Linked DNA regions of Homo sapiens: region 1 is linked to region 2. The links are contacts of gene promoters, found by promoter capture Hi-C in human tissues and cell types (Jung and others, 2019). All regions are on one chromosome and are shown on one strand. Each heading gives the region's core, a stretch centred on a gene start or on the middle of the fragment in contact. The rest is flanking DNA. Distances are from core to core; before and after follow the strand shown.

Region 1 (5,398 bases), core at 2,112-4,611, 110 kb after region 2:
TAGCTGGGGTTACAGGTGCCCACTACCACGCCCAGCTAACTTTTTTGTATTTTAGAGATGGGGTTTCACCATGTTGGCGAGGCTGGTCTTGAACGCCTGACCTCAGGTGATCCACCTACCTCAGCCTCCCAAAGTGTTGGGATTACAGGCGTGAGCCACTGCGCCTGGCTGGAAAACTTCTTTTTATGTAGATATTCCAGGTATAAATGAAGAATGACATAATTAGGATATCATTTTGTAAACCCCTAATATAATGACTACTGACTATATAAAATAGTAATAATGTCATCTAGTGGAAATAAAAAAACAAAATAAAATAAGATCAATTTAAAATTCCAGGCAGGACATGGTGGCTAATGCCCGTAATCCCAGCACTTTGGGAGGCCCAGGTGGGTGGATCACCTGAGGTCAGGAGTTTGAGACTAGTATGGCCAACATGGCAAAACCCCGTCTCTACTCAAAATACAAAAAAATAAACCGGGCGTGGTGGCACACGCCTGTAATCCCAGCTACTTGGTAGGCTGAAGCACGAGAACTGCTTGAACCTGGGAGGCAGAGGTTGCAGTAAGCCGAGATCACAACACTGCACTCTGGCCTAGGTGACAGAACAAGACTCTGTCTCAAAAAAAAAAAAAAAAAAATCCAGATAAAAACTGAGTTAAAAATAGCTAAAAATGGAGTTGGAAATTAAATAGGAAGAGGGCAAAGGTTTTGATGAACTTTACACTTTGATAAGCTAATTACACATCTGTAATTTGTAGAGTAACCACTCCAAGAGTACAAACAGAACATATAATTTCCAAACTAGTAGAGGGAGAAAAAGAGAATAAGAAAAATTCCTCAGTCAAATCCTTAAAAAAAGCAAGCAAGCAGTTTTTTAAAATAAACAATTTTTTACAAAGGAATAATTCTTTTTTTTAAAAAAAGTAAGCAGCAACCAAGGAAACAGAACAGGTGGGAAAAGAAAGCGTACAGTAAGATGGTAGAAATAAATCCAAATACAGCAACAAACTAAACACTGAGGGCAAATGCCGAGGAGGGTCAGAATGGGTTTAAAAAAATCAAAATCCAAATACATGTTGTTTACAAGACATGCAGCTAACCCATAAAACTAGAGAAAGTTTGGAAATAAAAAGATGGAAAAAGTATCATGAAAATACTAACCAAAAAGGAAGTAACACAGCTATATTAATGTCAAACAAAATAGATTTTAAAGCAGTACACATCACCGGGGAAAAAAGATCACTTCATAAGTATAAAAGGTTCAATTCACCAGAAATATACAAGAGATTTAAAGAACATCATTAACCAACTTAACCTAATGGATGTGTAAAGAACAATGGACCCAATGTTTGCAAGTTAACATTCTTTTCAATACACACACGATTTACGGAAAGTGACCATATACTGAACCAAAAAGCAAGTCGTAGCATAAAGGACTACAATCATAGAGTACGTTATCTAATCACATACAATTAAGCTAGAATTCCATAAGAACAAGAAAACCCATACATGTTTGGAAATTAAGACATACGTGTCTAAGTAACCCACGGATGAGAGAAGAAATCAAATTATTTTTTTTTTTTTTTTTTTTTTTTTGAGACAAGGTCTCATTCTATTGCCCGGGCTGGAGTGCAGGGGTGCGATCTCAGCTCACTGCAACCGCCACCTCTTGGGCTCAAGTGATCCTCTCACCTCAGCCTCCCAAGTAGCTGGGACTACAGGCACATGCCATCATGCCTGGCTTTATTTTTTATTATTATTTTTTGTACAGACAGGGTCTCACCATGTTGCCCAGGCTGGTCTGGAACTCCTGGGCTCAAGTGATTCGCCTGCCTTGGCCTCTCAAAGTGCTAGGATTACAGGTGTTAGCCACTGCACCCAGCAAGAAATCAAACTCTTAAAAGATAATGAAAAAATACATATGAAAACCTGTAGGATTCAGATAAACCAGTATTTAGAAGTAAATTTATAGTCTAAAATGCATACATTAGAGAAAACGTGAAAATTAATAAGCTAAATATATCACAAAGATTAGAAAAAAGAATAGAAAGTAAGCCTAAACAAAGTAGAAATAATGAAATAATAAAGGTAAGACCAGAAATTCATTATATAGAAAACAAACACGCATAAGAAAAGATCAACAATGTCAAAGATTGTTTTTTTGGAACAACAATGTCAAATGTCAAATGTTGTTTTTTGGAACAACAGGGTGGGAGGTTTGCTTTGCTGGTATAAAGAATTATTATAAAGCTACAGTAATTAAGACAGTGTGATAATAGTATAAGCACAGACAAAGACCAACAGAATTGAATAGAGCCGAGAAACAAAAGCATACGTATATAAACATTTGACCCATGACAAAACTGACAATGAGGAAAAGTCAAGTCTTTTCAATAAATGATTTTGAGTCAAATTGATATGGGTATGGGGAAGAAATCTAAATGTAAAAGGAAAAACAATAACTTTTAAGAAAAGAATTATAAGACAACATGTCCATGACCTTGGAGGTGGGAAATGAGTTCTTAATCAAGACAGAGCCGGGTGCGGTGGCTCACGCCTGTAATCCCAGAACTTTGGGAGGCTGAGGCGGGTGGATCACGAGGTCAGGAGATCGAGACCGTCCTGGCTAACACGGTGAAACCCCGTCTCTATTAAAAATACAAAAAATTAGCCGGGTGTGGTGGCGGGCGCCTGTAGTCCCAGCTACTCGGGAGGCTGAGGCAGGAGAATGGCATGAACCCAGGAGGCAGAGCTTGCAGTGAGCCGAGATTGCGCCACTGCACTCCAGCCTGGGTGACAGAGCAAGACACTCCATCTCAAAAAAAAAAAAAAAAAAAAGAGACAGAAAGAGCACTACCCCTAAAGAAAAAGGTAAAGATAAATTAACCCACATTGTAATTAAGAACTTTCACTAATAATAAGACACCATTGAAAACGGGAAAAGGCTGGGCGTGGTGGCTCACGCCTGTAATCCCAGCACTTTGGGAGGCTGAGACGGGTGGATCACCTGAGGAGGGTGGCTCGTCTGAGGTTGGGAGTTCAAGACCAGCCTGGCCAACATGGTGAAACCCCATCTCTATCAAAAATACAAAATTAGCTGGGCGTGGTGGCGCATGCCTGTAATCCTAGCTACTCAGGAGGCTGAGGCAGGAGAATCGCTTGAATCTGGGAGGCGGAGGTTGCAGTGAGCTGAGATCATGCCATTGCACTCCAGCCTGGGCAATCAGCGAGACTCTGTCTCAAAAAAAAAAAAAAAAAAAAAAAAAAAAAGAATGCAAAAAGGCAAAGCAGACTGAAAAAAAGGTAGCTGCAAAAGGCTTGGATCCAAAATACATAAAGGACTTATAAAAATCTATAAGGAAAAAACTGACAACCTAATAGGAAATGGTCACGAAACTTAAATGGAAATTTTCCAAAGAGGATATACTAACAAAGAGAGGGAGAATAGTCCAATAAACAAATGGAAAGGTTTTTAACTTCATCAGGGAAAAATAAAACCACAAAATTGACACAGCAAGTGTTGGCAAGCATCTCATAAATTGCTGGTAGAAGTGCACAACTGCTTTTATCATTAACCAAGTAGAAGGACTTGCTTTAACAGACATGAAATCATTGTATTCGTCAATATAGTGCGTAATCAGACAGGCAGAGACAAATAAATGAAGAGAGACAGAGATACAAAAATAAACTTGATATGACGGAGGGCAGAAACTGGTGAACTTTTCAATAAATGGTACAGGAACAATTGGTATTCACATGGAAAAACATGAAATTGGGGTTATATAAGAATTAATTTCAGATGGATTACAAATCTAAACATAAAAGACAAAATTATAAAGCTTTGAAAAGATAATATACAAAAATACATCTTCGTGACCTTGGGGTAGGAGAGAATTTAAGAACTGAAAAAGCATTAAGCATAAAGGAAAAAACATACATTGAAAACATCTGTTCATCAAAACACACTGTCAAAAAAGTGAGAAGATAGGCCATACAGAGAAGGCTCTGTAACATATGTAATGATAAAGAACTAGTGTCCTGAATATATAAAAACTCTACTTGCCATTTTTTCTCATTGAAACTTCTCTTTCAATGAGAAAAAGGTAAACAATCCCATTTTAAAATGGACAAAAGATTTCTTTTTTTTTTTTTTTAAGATGGAGTCTCTCTGTCACCCAGGCTGGAGTGCAGTGGTGCAACCTCAGCTCACTGCAAGCTCTGTCTCCCGGGTTCACGCCATTCTCCTGCCTCAGCCTCCCGAGTAGTTGGGACTACAGGCGCCTGTCACCACGCCCGGCTAATTTTTTGTACTTTTAGTGGAGAAGGGGTTTCACCGTGTTAGCCAGGATGGTCTCGATTTCCTGACCTCGTGATCCACCCGCCTCAGCCTCCCAAAGTTCTGGGATTACAGGCGTGAGCCACCGCTCCCGGCCAAAATGGACAAAAGATTTCAACAGCATTTCATAAAGGAGAAATCCAAATTACAAAAAATCATATGAAAAGTACTTAATCTTATTAGTAATCAGGGAAAATACAAATTAGAAACATGAGAAACCACTACACAGCACTGAAATTGGCAAAAATGGAAAGACTGACAAAACTAAGATTTGGTGATATCTGGAGCAACAGGAAGTCACACACTTCTGGAGGAGTGGAAGTTGGTATAATTACTTTGGAACATGTTTTGACATTATCTCAACGTGAAGTATGCAGATCTTATGATCTGTTATATAGCCAAATGTAATGTATACTTATGTATCATGATACATGTTCAAGGTAGTAGTGCTCAAAATTGCTCCAAAGTGTAAAGAACCCAAATGGCCATCAAGAATAAAGTATATTAAGTAAACTACTACAGTGTATGTGTATATATGTATTTTTAGACTGGAATATTATGACACTGAAAACAAACAAACTGTATCTATATCCAACTCCATGGATTAATCTACATCGATTTTGAAAAAACAAAAAAAACTCTACATATCATTATATATATATATAAAATATATATTTAACATATATTAAGTATATTTATATATATAATATTAAATATACATATATTTAAAAACACCCTAAGTTAAGCTGTATTGTTTAGGGATAAATATACAGACAACAAAAGTGTAGACAAAAGCAAAGGAAATTATAACTTTAAATCTGGTAATAGGCAGCAGTAATATTTACTACTGAAGAGGATTCAGCAACATTCTGTCTTTTGTTCAGGTGACAGATACATGGGTACTCCATTATCATTATTTAACTATTTCTAAATGCTTTTGAATATGTTATATTTCATAATAAAACTGTCAAATTATTAGAAAATATCTAAAATTCATAAAATGATATAAATAATGTCCATCTGCATACCCACAACAAAATTTAAGAAAAACAACATAAA
Region 2 (5,840 bases), core at 3,002-5,501:
AGAAGGACAAACTCTGCATGATTATTCTTATATGAGGCATCTAAAGTAGCTGAACATAGAGAAGTACACGACGGAATTGTGGTTACCAGGGGATGGGGGAGGGGCGATAGGGAGTTGTAAAGTTATAATGATACAAGATGAGCAAGTTCCAGAGATTTTCTGTACAATATAGTGCCTATAGTTAACAATAAGGCATTCGGCACTTAAAAATGTGTTAAGAGGGCAGATCTCATGTTAACTGTTCTTACCACAAAAGCAAAAAATAAACAAAAACAAAGAACCACGAGGAACCTTTGGAGATGATGAATATGTTCATTATCTTGATTGTGGAAATGGCAACACAACTGTATAGGTATGTCCAAACACCATATTGTGCACGTTAATTATGTGCAGTGTTCTGTGTAACAATTATGCCTCAATAAAACTGGGAAACATTAAAAGTCTAGTAAATTGAACTTATAGATACAGTAAATCTTAAGTTACCTTTAAAAAAATGTAGGTGTGGAAAGAGTTCTGTTCCTGATGAGTTTGGACTGAGCAGATCACGGGGGGAGGTGAGCCACAGCCTGGAGATGGGGCCTCAGGGCCAGGCCGGGCCTTGACAATGGCTGGAGAGGCAGACCATCTCCCTGGAGGAAGCCCTGCTTCTTTGGACTGGCTTATGTACATGGGACTTCCTTACAGCCTGGACTTAAAGAACAGGCCCTATTTATTTCTGGCCCAAGGGCTTTTTAGAGCAGGGGGAGCCTCTTTTTTTTTTTTTTTTTTTTTTTTTTTGAAGGTAGGTCTCCATGATCCTAAGTTCCTATTACTTCTAGAGCAATATTTATAAACATTTCCTTACCAAAGGGAAATAGCAATGATCCCTTCTATTCTTTCTATCCCTACCTAAAACAAAACAAAACTTGCTAGCCATGGCAAAAATATGAAGAAGCTGGTAACAAAAAGAGTTTATGGTTATATGTGACTTCCTAAAGTCCTCTGCCTCAGGATTCTATGCAATGCAGATTTACAACTTTTTGAAAGTGTTGGCACTTTCTTTTTTTTTTTTTTTTTTTTCTGAGACACAGTCTCACTCTATTGTTGCCCAGGCTGCGTGCAGTGGCGCGATTTCAGCTCACTGCAACCTCCACCTCCTGGGTTCAAGTGATTCTCCTGTCTCAGCCTCCCAAGTAGCTGGGATTACAGGTGCCCATCACCACACCTCGCTAATTTTTGTATTTTTAGTAGAGACAGGGTTTCACCATGTTGGCTAGGCTGGTGTTGAACTCCTGACCCGTCTTGGCCTCCCAAAGTGCTTGGCTCCCAAAGGCGTGAGCCACTGCGCTTGGCCAGCACTTTTTCATTGATTGACATAGAAATAATTGTTCTAGAAGTATTTTGGGGTTTTGAACAAAGAAGTTACTGTGTTAGTGTGGTTTTCAATCACGCTAACCACACCAGCAACCTGCTCCTCATTCGTCTAAAACACCATGATAATTTTGAGAGAAGGTCTATAGAAGCAAATGCTTAAAAAACTTAGAAAAGCTGGATAATATATATCCAATATGTTATTGAAATTTTTGTCATGATTAATACCCAGGGCAAAACCAGGACCTAGATATTCTTCTGAATGACAGAATTAAAAATATTACTACAAAATGATTATAAAGCCAGAACTATTTATTTATTTATTTATTTTTTTGAGACAGATCTCACTCTGTCACCCAGGCTGGAGTGCAGTGGTGTGATTTCTGCTCACTGCAACCTCTGCCTCCTGGGTTCAAGAGATTCTCCTGTCTCAGCCCCCAGAGTAGCTGGGATTACAGGTGCCTGCCACCACACCCAGATAATTTTTGTATTTTTAGTAGAGACAAGGTTTCACCATGTTGGCCAGGCTGGTCTCAAACTCCTGACCTCAAAGTGACCCACCCACTTCAGCCTTCCAAAGTGCTGGGATTACAGGCGTGAGCCACTGCACCAGGCCTAAAGCCAGAACTCTTAATGTGAAAAAAGAAATCTAATGTCTGGGCACTCATGGACATAAAGATGGCAACAATAGGCACTGGGGACTGCTAGAGAGGGGAGGGAGGGAGGGGTCAAAGGTTGAAAAACTACCCACTGGGTGCTTCGCACACTACCTGGGTGACAGGATCAATCATATCTCAAACCCTAGCACTGTGCAATATATCTATGTCACAAACCTGCACTTGTATCCCCAGGATCTAAAATAAAGTTGAAAGTTAAAATTAAAAAAAAAAATCGAATGTCATTCCTACACCAACATCACAGGCCTTTGTATGTTCCCTTAGTAATACCTATTCAACCCCTTATGAAGCTCAATGACCTATATCCTCCTATGTTCCAGCATCCTATGAGAAGAGAAGTAAAAAGTATTTTTAAAAGGAAAAAGTCTTCTGCAACCACCCAGCCTACAACAGTGTCCAAGGGCTTTCCTGAGGTTGCCACTTGTGTTTTTTGTATTTCAGTGGCCCCCTGCCAGGCTTTGAGTGTTTATTCCCGAAGGGCATATGGCTGCTGGAAACTGGAGGTGGGAAAGATTGAAGAGGATTTGAAAAAGCCCCAAAGAGCTAGAGGAATGAGAAATGCACAGAGATGTCAAAGCAACAGGTAATGAGAGAGACCAGAGTCTAAAGGAAGGACACTGAGCAAATTTTGTGATGTCCGGTTCAAGTCCAGAGAAGAGTGACAAAAAGCCATTGTTATCTAATAACAACCCCCCGCCCGCCCCCCCCACCCCCAGCTCCTCGAGAAAGCTCTGTCTTGCCACGTCTCGACAATTTTGTCAAAGTTACAACCTGGTCATAAGCTTTAATGAGAAACATGCACCCTGCTGAGGTCAGGAGTTCGGGACCAGCTTGGCCAACATGGTGAAACCCCGTCTCGAAATACAAAAATTAGCCAGGCATGATGGCGGGTGCCTGTAATCCCAGCTACTTGGGAGGCTGAGGCAGGAGAATCACTTGAACCCGGGAGATGGAGGTTGCAGTGAGCTGAGATAGCACCATTGCACTCCAGCCACGGTGACAAAGCGAGACTCCATCTCCAAAAAAAAGAGAGAGAGAGAGATCTGTTCAAATCATGAGAAATGCTGAGACCAGAACACCTGCCTTTGACTCCTGTCTTCCGAATGCCAAGCTTCACCCATCCCTTTTCAACAAGTGCAAACCCATTTCAGGAGAGGGCACCGAATCCATCTTGAAAGGACTTGCTCCGAGTTTCAAAGCTGACGCTTTTAAGCTCTTAAATTCCCCTTCCAACAAACAAGCCAATAGTATGTTGGCATGCATTCATATAAGCAGGCTTGGCCCACGCCATATTTATTTAGTCTTCATAACTAGATGTACTAGAGGGTGTGAAGAATAAACCAGCACATCAGCCTTATTGAATATGCTTCCGACCAAAACCATCATTGGTTTGCCTTTCAAAGCCTAATCTAAGAGTCTCTGTCAAGAGTCTCATCTCTTCCTTAGAAGGAGCTCTTTCCCCAGCTCTGGCCCTCCCCACCAAGCTTGGAGCATGGGCCTCACCTGTGCACTTGCAGGTCCGGTGGAAGAATTTTCTTGGCCACAGCTCACGGTCATCCTGGTTTCGTAGGATGTAGGGACCACTCCAGGGCCTTGTGTCGGCTCGCACCTCTGTGCACTGCCCCCGGCCTTGCTGAGAGCCACAGACATTGGCCGACTCTGCACCCAGGCGTGGGCAGCACTCCTTGTTCACTAGGCTGTCCACCGTCATGCAGACTCGGGGGAACTGACCCTGGGCTCCTGGCAGGATTTTGCAGCCCAAGCAACTGAGCAGAAACCCCCACCAAAGGGGGCTCATGGCTTTATAATTGGGAGAGCTCTCTCTCTCTCTTACTTTCCTTGTCTCTGTCGTACTTTTCTCCTTATCTTCTACTCTTTCAGTCTTTTCTTTTCAGTATTTTTTATTTTTCTTTGCTTTCTATTCCTTTCTTCTTAAAAAAATACCCACAAGAATCACAGAGGTTACATGTGTGCACATGTGTACATGAACGTGCACACACAATTTTATGTGATTCAAACAACTAACAGACTTAATTTCCTTAGAAGCGCCTCTAACAACCAAATTTAATGAGGGTAGCGCTTCTCACCATCTTCCCCCGTTAAGTCAGGCTTTGTCTAATTGAGTTAATTTACAGAGCACCCAGTCATACTACTTATTATGCTGGTATTTCTAAACCCTCTCCCTCCCTCCTTAGCTCTTGACTTTAATTGCCTTGAACTCAGTTCAAAAGCCAAACACCGTGCTGCTTTTATTCTCTCTGGCTTGCCAAGCCACGGGGCCTTGGGGGCTTGTGTAAGGGCTGGGAGAAGCCTTCATTAGGGGGATTAGTATTACAGAAACCCTCATCATTAGCACATGACCCAAAGTGCACAATAAAGGAGATCACTTCTGGCTTTATTTCAGGAGGGCAAAACCATCTTCTTTATCTGGGCTCATGTGCTCCAGCCAAACTTGTGACCTCAGACATCCTGGGGAGTCAGTAGATGCAGTGAGCTCTTCGTCAAAGACCCTTTACACAGAAGCTCACATTGCCAACTACAATGCACTCATGGCTGCTTTCTGACATGTGTGCAAAAAAGACCACAACAGGGGGTCATGCAACTTCAAAAATAAAGAAACATTTATGTAGAACCAGGGTACAAGGAATTGCTTTGTTCCACAATTGGGAATCCTCTTCCCTCCAAATAATAACTTACTCTTCTCCTATTCAGCACATCTACGCAGCAATTTTTTTTTAATTACATGAAGTAGCATGCCACCAGAAACTCACAATTGTCATTATCTGATTGTATGGAAGGCACTGGAACCATTTGGAATGAAGGCTTGCAAGCAAATCTTTTTGATTAGACTAAAGTGAAGCATGACTGAGCTTCAGTCTAGAAAGCAATGCCTCCTGGTGCTTCTGGAGAATGGTCAGGTCAGCAATGGTGGCCACCTGTCAGAACATCCATTTATTTTTTCACAGTGGAAACAGGACTGTCTTGGTAACTGTTTCACAGTGGAAACAGGACTTAGTGCCACAAGGATGCGAAACGGCTTCAGCTAGTTTCTAAGAATATACTTGAATGTAAAGACACATATTGTTATGTTTCAAAGCAAATTCCTAAGGTGAAACAATTATATAGGTATTCCCACCCCCTGTACCTCTGTGCCACCCCTTGATGTTAAGTTGTTGTGACTAATTAAATGGCAATTCTTATGTCTGACTCTACACCAATATCAGCCTGTACCACAGCCCTACTGAATCAGAATCTCTGAGGATGTTCCAGACACCAACCAACCTTTGTTAGAAAACATCTAGGCAATTCTAATGCTCAGCCAGAGTTGAGAATCACTGAATCAGAATACAGCAGAGCTCCAAAGGAAATATTGCATCAGCATCAGCTAAAAGAGACCATGTGCAATAGTTTCCTGAGGCTTCTGTAACAAATGACCACAAACTGGATGACTGAAAACAACAGAAATCTATTTTCTCACTGTTCTGAAGGCCAGAAGTCTAAAATGAAGGTGTTGGCAGGACTGGCGTGTGTCAGCCAGGCGGCTGCACTCTCCCTGGAGACTCTAGGCTAGAATCCTCCTTGCCTTTTCAAGCTTCTGGCAGCTGCTGTCAATCCTTGGCTTGAAACCGCAGCTCCAATGTCTGCCACAGCCCCATGGCCTTCTCCCCATCTGTCTGTGTTTTTCCTCCATGTCTGTTTCTTATAAGGACACTTATTGGATGTAGAGCCCACTCAGATAATCCAGGATGATCTCATCTCAAGATTCTTCACTCAATTACATCTGCAAAGAAGACTCTTTTTTCCAGACAAAGT

What was found. Contacts are between HindIII fragments. The study calls those that stand out against the background at their distance.
Region 1: a contact is called between a fragment that was not itself captured here and the fragment with the promoter of DCT in region 2, in 4 of the 25 tissues and cell types used here (lymphoblastoid cells, neural progenitor cells, pancreas and 1 more).

Annotation. Positions count from the first base shown.
Region 1 is chr13:94,585,178-94,590,575 of GRCh38, forward strand. All of the region lies in intron 4 of TGDS (TDP-glucose 4,6-dehydratase), which reads right to left. Among named protein-coding and RNA genes, the nearest start is that of TGDS, 8.3 kb to the right of the region's middle. The HindIII fragment of the contact is 8,575 bases long and covers 1-5,398 here.
Region 2 is chr13:94,475,431-94,481,270 of GRCh38, forward strand. DCT (dopachrome tautomerase) reads right to left here and starts at 4,252. Exons shown (of 8, transcript NM_001922.5): 1 at 3,531-4,252. The coding sequence starts at 3,825. The HindIII fragment of the contact is 3,749 bases long and covers 3,325-5,840 here.